Regions from separate parts of the Homo sapiens genome. Here all the other regions are linked to region 2. Evidence: promoter capture Hi-C in human tissues and cell types (Jung and others, 2019). All regions are on one chromosome and are shown on one strand. Each heading gives the region's core, a stretch centred on a gene start or on the middle of the fragment in contact. The rest is flanking DNA. Distances are from core to core; before and after follow the strand shown.

Region 1 (3,132 bases), core at 154-2,653, 240 kb after region 2:
TTAGAGAGATGGCGTTTTGCCATGTCACCTAGGCTGGTCTCAAACTCCTGGATTAAAGCAATCCACCTGCCTTGGCCTCCCAGAGTGCTGGAATTACAGGTATGAGCCACTGCACCCAGCCCAAAAATGTTTTTTAAAAATTAGCTAGGTGTGGTGGCACGCACCTGTGGTCCTAGCTACTGAGAAGGTCCAGGTGGGAAGATCGCTTAACCCCAGGAGTTCAAGGCTGCAGTGAGTTGTGATTCCGCCACTGTATTCCAGCCTGGGCACCCTGTCTCAAAATAAAAAATTAAAGTTAAGGCCAGCGCGGTGGCTCACGCCTGTAATCCCGGCACTTTAGGAGGCCAGGGCGGCTGGATCACGAGGTCAGGAGATCGAGACCATCCTGGCTAACACGGTGAAACCCATCTCTACTAAAAATACAAAAAAATTAGCAGAGCATGGTGGCAGGCGCCTGTAGTCCCAGCTACTTAAGAGGCTGAGGCAGGAGAATGGTGTGAACCCGGGAAGTGGTGATTGCAGTGAGCTGAGATCCCGCCACTGCACTCCAGCCTGGGGAACAGAGTGAGACTCCGTCTCAAAAAAAAAAAAAAAAATTAAAGTTAAAAAAAGAAAAAGAAGAGGAAAAGACACAGAGACATGCAGGGGAGGAGAAGACAGATAAGACAAGACAGAAGACATATAAAGACAGAGGCAGAGATAAGAGTGATGCAGCCACCAGCCACGGAACCCCAAGCGGTCCTGGGAGACTCCAGAGGCTGACAGAGGCAAGGCAGGATCCTGCCCTAGAACCTTCAAAAGAAGCGTGGCTCCACGGACACTTTGATTTCACACTTCTGGCCTCTAGAACCATGAGAAAGCGAAATAAGAGAGATGGGGCCAGGCACAGTGGCTCACGCCTGTAATCCCAGCACTTTGGGAGGCCGAGGCGGGTGGATCATCTCAAGTCAAGAGTCTGAGAGCAGCCTGGCCAACATGGAGAAACCCCATCTCTACTAAAAAGATAAAAATTAGCCAGGCGTGGTGGTCGGCACCCGTAATCTCAGCTACTAGGGAGGCTGAGGCAGGAGAATCACTTGAGCCCGGGAGGCGGAGATTGCAATGAACTGAGATTGCACTACTGCACTCCAGCCTGGGCAACAGAGCAAGACTCTGGCTCAAAAAAAAAAAAAAAGGGAGTAATGGAATTTTCTTGTCTCTACAAGAAAATGAGAAGAACAGCCCAAGAAACCCAGCATCCAAATAATAAAGGGTTTCAGAAAGAAGAGAGAACACAGAAGGGAGAAACTGCTGAGCAACCATTCAAGAAACGTTTTCCTAAATGAAGAATGTGATTGAAAAGGACCAGCAAGTGGCCAACACGATGACTGGAAACAGACCCACACCAAGACACAGCGCAGCGCAACTTCAGAACTACAGAGAGCTACAGGGAGAAGCTCCGGCAAGAAAAAGCAGGTTTCAAACAGAGTGTGGAGAATGAGGATGACACCTAGATGCAACCATCTGGGGATGGGGAAGGGGCGCAGACAGGCATGTAAATCTCCCAGGGTGATTCTCGTAATCACGTGTTGTTTAGAATAATCAGGCCAGGTCATTTTGTCGGGGATCCCACCCCCGTGTCACCATCTGCTGGTATTTTTCCTTGGATTAATTAGTCAGGTTTTCCAGAGAAGACCCTTCAGGCTTGCTGCCACTCAGCTGAGAGGGGCAGAAGGCTGGAAGTCTCAGCCTTCAGTATCAAAACCTTCGCTCAGCAAACCATCCGTAGGGATAGTTTCAATCCTATTGGCGTGCTGCCAACCCTTACCCTGAAGTCCTATGGCAGTCACTTGCAGATGGGGCTGGATCTACCATGATGAACCTGAACTTCCTCGGAAGCATGCTTCTGTAGCCAGCATGGGAGAAACTTGCAGGCTTGTTAGGAAGATGCGTGTTTATTTTAGCCACGGGGTAGTACCAAAATACCATTAACATTACTCAAAAATAAGTTTGCCGGCTGTGGGCGGTGGCTCATGCCTGTAATCTCAGCACTTTGGGAGGCCGAGGAGGGCAGATCGCCTGAGGTCGTTAGTTCAAGACCAACCTGGCCAACATGATGAAACCCCCATGTCTCCTAAAAATAACTAAAAATACAAAAATTAGGGGGGCGTGGTGGTGCACACCTGTAATCCCAGCTACTCAGGAGGCTGAGGCAGGATAATTACTTGAACCTAGGAGGCGAAGGCTGCAGTGAGCCGAGATCACACCTCTGCACTCCAGCCTTGGTGACAAAGGGAGACCCCATCTCAAAAACACATAAAATAAGTTTGTGAGCCAGACAAATATGATCGCAATGCCAATAGATAATAATTTTTTTTCAAACAGAAAAACTCCAGGAGAAGCCAGGCATGGTGGCTCATGCCTGTAATCCCAACACTTTGGGAGGCCGAGGCAGGAGGATTGCTTGATCCCAGGAATTCCAGACCAGCCTGGGCAACATGATGAGATCCTGTCTCTACAAAAAATTTAAAAATCACCTGGTCATGGTGGCATATGCCTGCAGTCTCAGCTGCTCAGGAGGCTGAGGTAGGAGGATCGCTTGAGCCCGGGAGGTAGAGGCTACAGTGAGCTGTGATTGCATCACTGCACTCCAGCCTGGGTGACAGAGCGAGACCTTGTCTCAAAGAATACAAATAAAATCAATAACTAATAAAAGTCTTATTGCTCTCGGTAGCCATAAGCTTACGGTTTTCTAGGAATCATGTTTTCATTTGGAACAGCACCCACGTACTCTCAGACACAGCCATGAGCAGCTATCCAGGAGGAGGAGACAGTGGATCCGCATTCTGTATTCTCTCTGGGTCCCTCCCCATCTTGGGGTGGTGAGGCATGGCTCTTCTTTGGCAATTTATAGTGTTGCTGAGAGACACACACACTGCTGGAATAAATCACTGGGCGTCTATGCTGTGAATTGAGCCCCGAGGAGCGTGTGGTTAATGGACCTTACTTCAACACTCTGGTCTGTCTGAGAGAAGCGTTCTCTCTTCCCAGCATGTAGTGGGTTCCAGGGAGGAGGTGAGCAGGGGCAGGAGGTGGAAGCTGGATGGCTTCCCAGCTTCTCCAGGGCCAGGTCTTCATTAGTGTGGCTTCATT
Region 2 (3,235 bases), core at 76-2,575:
TGTGTCGCCAATCCAGAAAACACACTGCCCTACCTTTGGCCGCGATCTTGCTTTCTCTAAGCATCAAAGGTACCCTCCGCTGTCATTCCTCTGGACGGCCACGCGTGTGGACACGGCCGCGGATGGATGCGTAGGACATTACCAAACAAACCCACACGCTGCACTTTACTTCTTCCCTCCTGGAGTGCCACTAGGGTCCCCGCGAGGAGGGCTGATCGGGTGCGGGGAGGCCGAGTGCACCGGGCGTGTGCTGACCAACTCGGGCCCAGTGACAGTCCTGCGACGAACTTCCACCCTCCCGCGCGGGGCGAGGGGAACGGGCTGCGGGGCCTGCTCCGAGCTCCCGGCTCGATCGGTATCCGCGACCACGACCCCCGGACGCTCTCTTTCAGGTGGGGGTGACAGCGCGCCCCGGGCCCCCGCCGCCCCGGACCCCCTCCTCACCTGTGCTGTCATTCGCCGAGAAACCGGGCGAGCTGAGTTTGGCTCTTTTGGGGTTGGGCGGTCCGTCCAGCAAGTTCTCAGCCATTTTCACCTGCTCGCGAAAACAGCCCCGGGCACGGGCGGCCGGGCCGGCGAGGGCCCGGACGGGGGTCGGGGGCCCTGCCGGCTGCGAGGGAGAGGAGCGAGCGCGGGCCGCGAGCGGGCGGGCGGGCGCCGAGGGAGAGGGAGGGCGCAGGCCGGGTGGGGGAGGCGGCGGCCAAATCTCAGCCACAGCAACAGCGCCCCGCAGCGCTCACCGCCCGCCCCCGGCCGCCGCCGCCGCCGCCGGCCGCGGCCCCCTCATCCCCTGCCCGCCTCCCGAGCGCGACACTCCGCGGTGGGGGCGCCCCGGCGGCCCGGCCGCCCCCCCGGGCCCGGCTGGCAGCGACGGCGCCCGGCCGGGCGGCTCAGGCAGTCCCCGAGAACATGGTGCCGCCGCCGCCGCCGCCTCGCTCCCCCCCCGCGCCCCACTTAATGAATTCGCTCGCGGCCCGACGACGAGGGGGCTCCGGGCTCCGCTCCCGGCCCGCGGCCCGCCGCCGCCGCCGCCGTGAGGAAAAACAATGCGCCGAGCGGGGTCGCCGCCGCCGCCGCGGCCCCCCCACCCCCCGTTCCGCCGCCGCCGCCGCCGCTGCCGCCGCCGCCGCCGCCGGGCTCCGGGAGGCCGAGCCGAGAGGCGAGCGGGGCCGCCGGGGCGGGCGCCGAGGGCCGGGCGGAGCGGGCCGGCCGGGCGGAGCGGGGTGCGCGGGCGGTTGTGGGGCCCGGGACCGGCGGGGCCGAGTAGATCGCGCTCGAAGCCCCGGTCGGGTCCGCGACAAGATGGCGGCTGTTGATTCCTCAATTAAAAAAAAAAGAAAGTTTTTTTTCTTCTCTTTCCAGAGCCTGAACGGGGAGGGGGTGGGGGCGGGGCACGCCGGTGCGTCACCCCCCCGCGGCGTCACCACGCACGGCCCCCGCCCCGCCCCCTCCACCTGCGCCGGCCGTGGCGGAAAGAGCCGAGCGTGCTCGGGCCGAAGGGCTGAAGGCGCGGCCGCCAAGCGTAGGGAAGCTGGCGGCCCGGCGCGGGCCAGGCCTGCGGGGCGCCTGGGCTCCGGGCTGAGCCACAGCTTTTGTTCTGATGGCGACCAGGCGTAGAGGGCCGGGGCTCCGGGCCCCAGCGGGCTCCGGGAGCGGCGGCCTGGCCGCGGGCTGGGCTCTCGGGCGCGGATTCGACGCCAGCCCGGGCCCGCCCGTCCCGCTGGGGCGGCGCTGCGTGTTCCCAGCTCCTCGCGTCCCCTTCCCCAGACCCTCCTAGGTGGCGTCGGTCGGGAACGGTCGGGGCGACCCCAGCCCAGGCCGCGCCACTAGCCTTCGCCGCCGGCCAGGGAAGTGGAATGGCCTCTGCAGGTTACAGACCGCCCTTGGGTCCTGCCGACGAGGTGGGCGGATGGGGAAACTGAGGCGGGGGGCGAGCAACTGCTCCAAAGTGGTCGAGGCAGGAAGTGGCAGGGCCGGGATTCGGGTCCCGCCCTACCTCGTGACACTAGGGAGTGAGGGGGCCTCACGCCTGTTCGCATCCCAAGGCGGCAGGGCAGACACCCTCACCTGTGAGAGCGGGGTGGCGAGGGCCGGCCTGGGCGGAGAAGGGCCCGCGCATCGGGGCTTAAGCCTGGACGCTCAGGCCGCACTCCCCGCCCCAGGCAACTTGCCTGGCGCCTCGCAGGTGCCCCAGACAGGGGTGCGGGCCTGGGGAGTCCCCCACGCGAGACCACAGCCCGCGGGACACTTCTACGAATACCCGAGGTGTTCCCATCCCAGTTAGTTATCTGCCCCTCCAAACTTGCCCGGCTTCCTCATAAAGGTATCAGCAGCTCCACTGTTTCCTAAGCCAGAAACCCGTGAGTCAGCGCGGACTCCTCCCTCTCACCCGCCACGCGCCCCTCTACCCACGGTCTTTACCTGGGAGACTGCTCCTCCCGCACTGTCCCGGTGGCTATGGTGGCAGCTACTCACTTAAGTGTTCTTTGCTCTCCACGTTGCTCCCCACGCAGCACCAGAGTTAACATCCCGAAAAGAGAGGGAGAAAATCTGTTTAAAACAACTCCCTGGCCAGGCGCGGTGGCAGATCACCTGAGGTCAGGAGTTCAAGACCAGCCTGGCCAACATGGTGAAACCCCATCTCTACCAAAAATACAAACATTAGCTGGGCGTGGCGGCGTGCGCCTGTAATCCCAGCTACTCGGGAGGCTGAGATGCGAGAATCACTTGAACTGGGGAGGCCAGTAAGCCGGGATCTCGCCATTGCACTCCATCCTGGGCGACAAGAGTGAAACTCCGTCTCAAAAACAAAACAAAACAAAACAAAATCCCAGACATAGAAAAAGAAAACACTACATAGTCTTTCTTTAAAAAAGAACACGTATGAATTCTCTTAAAAACATAGGTGTATGTACATATGGTGACTGTCCTTGAGTGTCAAGATTGAGTGATCGTTCTGCTTTTCTCTGTTTACCTGTACTGCTCAAAATCTTGGGCCGTGATACCGCTCTTGAATCTGTCTCTTCTACTTTACATGGCTCACTTCACCATCATCATCCTACACCCACTTGGCCAGTAGGCAGTTCACATCATTCAGGCTTTTTTTTTTTTTTTTTCAAATGCTGGTCCCTGTGCTGAGAAGACATGCCTGGCAAATTCTAACTCATCCTCCAGAACCCAGTTCAAATGTCACCTACTCCAGGAAGCCCTCCTAGCCCACTCCTCGGCTCCCATA
Region 3 (3,127 bases), core at 628-3,127, 200 kb before region 2:
ATGGGCGTTACGCCTCAGTGAACCCTGACCCCTGACCCCGGCTGCCCGGTGCACAGGGGCAGGGCTGTGGTAGAGCTGGGCCCCTGTCTCATCCCCACACCCAGGTCTCATCTCCACAGAGCAGCTCGCCCTGTGACTCTGGGCCGCATCCCCTGGGCTCATCTCTTCTCCGCTGCCCTGAAACGTACAGATTTGTCTCCATGTTTGACCAGTCCCTAGAGGAACTCAGGGCTCACCTGCAAGGTGTTCATCCGCCTTCCATTCAAGTACAAGGGGAAGCTGACGAAGTTGCTGTACTTCGTTACCACATCTGGAAGGGACAAAAGAAAAACCACACTGCATCTACAATGCTTGTGGAAACGCAAGCTTTGCAGCAGCTCCAGGATGAGCGCCAGCCTGCTGGGAAGGGTCCTCCATGCTGTGTACACTTCACAGGTACAGAAACAGGGCACAGTGGGGACACCTGTCCTCCCCCCAGTCTCACGGGGGCAGCAGCGGAGCCCACGTGAGAACCAGAGCTGTGGAGGCCCCGGCTGCTGCGAGACTGCAATGTCAGCTTGTGGCTGGAACATGGCTTTCTGGGCTGACTCCTGGGGGTACTCAGGGCCTCCCTGAGTGTCCAGCAGGACACAAAGAGGGAAGGCCACGCCCACATCCTGGGACAGGACTGCGCCAAACCCCCAGGTGCACTAAAGGCCAAGGGCCACGCAGAGGAAGGAGGAGGAGGTCCGCCTCAGCCAGGCCAGCTTCCTCCCAGTCCCAGCAGGAGCTCGATGCTACGCAGCCCTGGCGGGCAGCCCCCCTCCCAGTCCCGCAGCGGCTCGGCCCTTCACGGCTCTGCCTGTGCACCCTACGTGCAGGTAGAACCAGGGAAAATGCCTGCTGACCTGGTGGCCTCCAGGCCACACATGGATCCCAGAGTGAGCCTGGGCCCGGGCTCCCGCTCACCTCGCACCCGGGCCTCGCTGGAAAACTCCTTGCAGTCGGATTTCAGGTGGATGATGATTTTTGTCCCGGTTCTAACTCCCGAAGCTTCGGCGATTTCAAACACTCCAGAACTAAGGCAGGCAAAGAAAGGAAAAGCCAGGTGGATGTGACACTGGGACATACCCTGCATGGGACTCCAGCGGTTCCCGAGGGTTTCATAGGCAGAGCCCAAACAACACACAACACACCTCAAATGCCCCATTTCTGACCCCAGCGCACCACTCAGGCCATCACATGCCCATCAGGAACGATGAGCCTGTCGCAGGCGGCAGAGTTCTCCTGGTTCCCTCGGGCGGGGGGCGGGGGGGCGGGGGTCCTCCACCGACCCTGGGCTTCGAAGAAGCTTCTGGGCTTACCCCAAAAGCAGGCCTGGGGCACTGTGGGGGACTGGCCCAGCTCCAAATCGGGTGCCAGATGCCCAGGGGCAAAAACAAAGGCCAGGGGGACAGGCGCCCCCTAAGAAGAGCAGAAAACCATCTCCGAAGCACAGGAGGGGGGAATCCCCCGGCAGGGCCATGTTGATGCCTTGGCCTAAGTTTACTCTGAGCCCCGCTCCCATGGAATTAAACAGGAATGTTAGTTTTGGGAGAGTGGGGAGTCAAGCTGAGCACAGTGCACACACTGTGGAGCAGAAATGGCATCACGGAGGGAGGACGCCTCGGCTGGCTGGAAGCGGCTCACCTGCTAAAAAGCCCTCGGAGCCAGGCGTGGTGGCTCACGTCTATAATCCCAGCACTTTGGGAGGCCAAGACGGGCAGATCACCTGAGGTCGGGGTTCGAGACCAGTCTGACCAACATGGAGAAACCCTGTCTCTACTAAAAATACAAAATTAGCTGGGCGTGGTGGCATGCGCCTGTAGTCCCAGCTACTCAGGAGGCTGAGGCAGGCCAATTGCTTGAACCTGGGAGGCGGAGGTGGCAGTGAGCCAAGATTGTGCCATTGCACTCCAGCCTAGGCAACAAGAGTAAAACTCCGTCCCAAAGGAAAAAAAAAAAAAAAAAGCCCCCAGCAGGCTCCTCACCCTATAGAGGCAGAAGTGGGCTGGGGAGACAAAGCCAGGAAATGCCAGGGCTGGGAGGAAGCAGAATGAGCTCTTGCAGAAGGTCGGTCACAGGAGGCTGCATAGTGTCCACCAGGCGACAGGCCAGTCCTGCAGCTCAGCCACTGAGAAAGGAGCTCAGCGCGGGCCGGACCTGCCTTCCCGAGCGCAGTGGTGGTGACCAACCACATGGGACCAGACAGGTGCCATAGGCCACCTGGAGCCACAAAAGTCACTAACTCCCCAAAATGGGAGAGTCAGATTTCATATAAAAAGCCCAGAAAATGCCTGTGTACGTTTTCTGAGTCCATCCCTTTCCAAACTCCATGCTAAGGGCTCCAGCTCAGCTTTGAGCTGCCTGTCAGGCGACATTCGTCACTCACCCATCTGAAAGCCACTGGTAACCCAGGCTCCCCGGGGCTGCCGAGCGGGAATAGACCTCCACTCTGTCAGCCACCATGAAAGCTGAGTAGAAACCCACTCCAAACTGGCCGATGATCTTGCTGCTGGCCTCAGCCTGGTTCTGCAGAGCATCCAGGAAGGCCTGTGGGGCAGAGGCCAGTTAGTGAGGCAGCCTCCCCTCCAGAGAGCAGACACTCCCAACACCGTGGCTCTTCTGCGAGCACCGCTAAGACCCCTTCATCCTGAAAACAGCCACACCGAGTACTTTTCCACCCCATTCTACACGTGAAGAGCTAAGTCACAGAGAGGTGACACATTAGCCCTAGGACAACCAGCTGGCAGCAGTGGGACAAGTGTGTTTTCCATTTGATTCCCAAAGCTCACAGTCCTGCCTGTCCCAGACAGGTGGAGGCCTGTGGGTCACACCTGGGGGTGGGGAAAGAGCAGCTTGAATAAGCTCTTTCCCTTGAATAAGCTCCTTCCATAGGAAGGCCAGGAGTGAGGAGAGGCTCCAAACTGGCTTCCATATTCAAGTCTCCTGGACTCTACACTTTGTGGGAAAAAGAGTAGAAATCACGCGCATGCGTCTGTAAGCACCGCACAGCACTTCATTTTTCTACTATAATACTGCCAAAGGTCCTAAGGCCAAAGTCAAGTAAAATACACACGCCCACTGCCCTGGCCCACGTTGTCCGATG
Region 4 (3,043 bases), core at 228-2,727, 220 kb after region 2:
TTGTTTCTTTGTTTGTTTGTTTGTTTTTGAGATGGAGTTTCGCTCTTGTTGCCCAGGCTAGAGAGCAGTGGCATGATCTCAGCTCACCGCAACCTCCGCCTCCTGGATTCAAGCAATTCTCCTACCTCAGCCGCCCGAGTAGCTGGGACCACAGGCATGTGCCACCATGCCTGGCTAATTTTGTGTTTTTAGTAGAGACGGGGTTTCTCCATGTTGGTCAGGCTGGTCTCGAACTCCCGACCTCAGGTGATCCGCCCGCCTCGGCCTCCCAAAGTACTGGGATTACAGGCGTGACTCACTGCGCCCAGCCATGTGTTTGTTTTTTGAGGCAGAGTCTCGCTCTGTCGCCCAGGCTGGAATGCAGTGGTGCCATCTCGGCTCACTGCAGCCTCCGCCTCCCAGGTTCAAGTGATTCTCCTGCCTCAACCTCCTGAGTAGCTGGGATTACAGGTGCCCACCACCACGCCTGGCTAATTATAGTATTTTTAGGAGAGACGGAGCTTCACCGTGTTGGCCAGGCTGGTCTCCAACTCTTGACCTCAGGTGATCCACCCACCTCGGCCTCCCAAAGCGCTGGTATTACAGGCACGAGCCATGGCCAGCTCGAAGTTGATGGTCTTTATCACACACTTTGAACATGAGCAACAAAGATTTACCAGAATCACAAAAGATTTTTAAGGATTTTGTAAGAAAAGGTCAATGTATGAACTAAGGTCACTTGCTATTTCCACAGGCAATATGTAATGGGTGTGACAACTCCAATTGGCGTTGTTTCACACACATGAGAATGCGTGTTTGGGTGGCACATACAAAACCCTCAGTCTTCCCATCTTGCAGCCCAGCTAGCGAAGCAGTACTCAAAGTGTGATCCGCAGATCCCTAGAGGTCCTTGAGGCCTTTGCAAGGCATCTGTGGAGTCTAAACTATTTGCACAATGACACTAAGACAGCATTTGCCTTCTTCAGTGTTGACACTTGCAGTGACAGTGCAGAAGAAGCCATGGGTGAAACTGCTAGTGCCTGAGCAGGTCCCGATGCAGGGAAACCAAACTGCACTAGCCCTCAGCTTGTCCTTCACTACCCCACACTTACGAAAGGAAAGGCAGACAGCTTCACTTAAGAATGTCCCTGATGGGCCGGGCATAGTGGCTCACGCCTGTAATCCCAGCATTTTGTGAGGCCGAGGTAGGGAGATCACCTGAGGTCAGGAGTTCAAGACCAGCCTGGCCAATATGGCGAAACCCCGTCTCTACCATAAAGACAAAAATTAGCCGGGCGTGGTGGCACACATCTGTAAATCCCAGCTACTTGGGAGGCTGAGGCAGGAGAATCACTTGAACCCAGGAGGCGGAGGTTGCAGTGAGCCAAGATCACACCACTGCACTCCAGCCCGGGCGACAGAGCGAGACTCTGTCACAAAAACAGAAAAAAGAAAAAAAAGAATGTCCCAGATGAAGCTGTCAACATGAATGATTGGTTAAATCGCAAGCTTGAGTAGGTGTCTTCTGAATAGTCTGAGTGATGAAATGAGAAGCACGCCTACGACGACGCTGCTGCCCATCAAAGCACAGCGGTCCTGGAGAAAAGCAGCTGTGCAGCTGTTTGGATTGCAAGCTGAACTGGCCACCTTTTTGGTAGCACATTATTTACACGTGACCTACAGACAAACCACGGTCGTTCAGGCTTGAGTACGGGCAGACCATTCCTGGGAATATGAATGAGTCTGTCGCTTCAAGGAAAATAACTGACAGTATTTGCCGCCAATGATAAAAAATTCCAGTTTTCAAGTAGAGTTTTGGAAAACTTACATCAGCCACTGTGATGAACTCAACATCTTCAGACTATTAGACTTTACTGACGTCAACATGTGGAAGAGCTGCATCATTCAAGAGACCAATATTTTCCAAATGACTAGTGCATGACGTTATAAAATCACACCTGGGTAAAAACCCAACAGCATTTAATATAATAGTGTACAAAAAAAGATAATAAAATTTCAGATTCCATATTGCAACTAACATTTAAGAAACTACCACTCAAAATAAAAAATCAGCGGGGTGTGGTGGTGCATGCCTGTAGTCCCAGCTACTTGGTAGGCCAAGGCAGAAGGATCACTTGAGCCCAGGAGGTCAAGGCTGGAGTGAGCTATGGTAGCACCACTGCACTCCAGCCTGGGTGACAGAGTAGGACCCCATCTCAGAAAAAGAAAAAGAAACTACTACTCACTTGTTGAATGTTTCTACAGAATCAAAGAAAAATATCCAGAATCACATAAAAAGGCTATGAAAATGCTCTTCCAACTAAAGCCAGATTTTCTACACATTTTTCAACATATTGCAACAAATTGAATGCCAAAGCGGTTAAGAAAATTCAGCGAACACACTTAAAAGTGTTTTAACACGGTAGATTTCTGTTGTGTACATTTTATCACTCAAAAAACCTCAGCCGTGGGTCGGGCGCAGTGGCTAACATGCTGAAACCCTGTTTCTACTAAAAATACAAAAAATTAGCCGGGTGTGGTGGTGCGTGCCTGTAATCCCAGCTACTCGAGAGGCTGAGGCAGGAGAATCGCTTGAACCCAGGAGGCAGAGGTTGCAGTAAGCCGAGATCGTGCCACTGCACTCCAATGTGGGCAACAAGAGGGAAAAAAATCCACCAAAAAAAAAACAAAAAACTTCAACCGTTTATTAATCCAGACATTAAAGAGATTTGCAAAAATGTATGGCAGTGCCACCCTTCTCATCAAATTTTTTCATTTTACAAAATATAGTTACTTTTATAAAAATGTTACTTACATTAACATGCAATGGGTGAAATGAATTACTATTTTGAAATAAATTTAGAAAAGATTTTTAAGCTTCTCAGTTTGTTTCAATTTCTAATACTGTAAATATCAATAGACAACCTATATAAATAATGCACATAAGCCTGGGAAACATAGGGAGACGTCATCTCTACAAATAATTTTTAAAATTAGGCCGGGCATGGTGGCTCACACCTATAATCCCAGCACTTTGAGAGGCTGAGGCGGGCAGATCACTTGA

The links. The method cuts DNA at HindIII sites, captures the fragments that hold promoters and counts their contacts. A contact is called where the count stands out against the background at its distance.
Region 1: a fragment that was not itself captured here is called in contact with the fragment with the promoter of CREBBP in region 2 in 1 of the 25 tissues and cell types used here (dorsolateral prefrontal cortex).
Region 3: a fragment that was not itself captured here is called in contact with the fragment with the promoter of CREBBP in region 2 in 3 of the 25 tissues and cell types used here (aorta, bladder and lymphoblastoid cells).
Region 4: a fragment that was not itself captured here is called in contact with the fragment with the promoter of CREBBP in region 2 in 2 of the 25 tissues and cell types used here (IMR-90 fibroblasts and aorta).

The regions. Positions count from the first base shown.
Region 1 is chr16:4,122,162-4,125,293 of GRCh38, forward strand. No RefSeq gene overlaps it. Among named protein-coding and RNA genes, the nearest start is that of ADCY9, 7.3 kb to the left of the region's middle. The HindIII fragment of the contact is 7,589 bases long and covers 1-3,132 here.
Region 2 is chr16:3,879,388-3,882,622 of GRCh38, forward strand. It overlaps CREBBP (CREB binding lysine acetyltransferase), which reads right to left and starts at 1,326. Exons shown (of 31, transcript NM_004380.3): 1 at 445-1,326. The coding sequence starts at 529. RefSeq lists silencers at 315-364, 445-494, 535-844, 1,182-1,231, 1,252-1,801 and an enhancer at 1,005-1,581. The HindIII fragment of the contact is 21,091 bases long and covers 1-3,235 here.
Region 3 is chr16:3,675,088-3,678,214 of GRCh38, forward strand. It overlaps TRAP1 (TNF receptor associated protein 1), which reads right to left. Exons shown (of 18, transcript NM_016292.3): 6 at 2,411-2,571; 7 at 949-1,058; 8 at 237-310. It also overlaps the pseudogene LOC124903630. Among named protein-coding and RNA genes, the nearest start is that of DNASE1, 22 kb to the left of the region's middle. The HindIII fragment of the contact is 6,931 bases long and covers 1-3,127 here.
Region 4 is chr16:4,102,415-4,105,457 of GRCh38, forward strand. The region is part of intron 2 of ADCY9 (adenylate cyclase 9); the gene reads right to left. Among named protein-coding and RNA genes, the nearest start is that of ADCY9, 13 kb to the right of the region's middle. The HindIII fragment of the contact is 4,527 bases long and covers 1-3,043 here.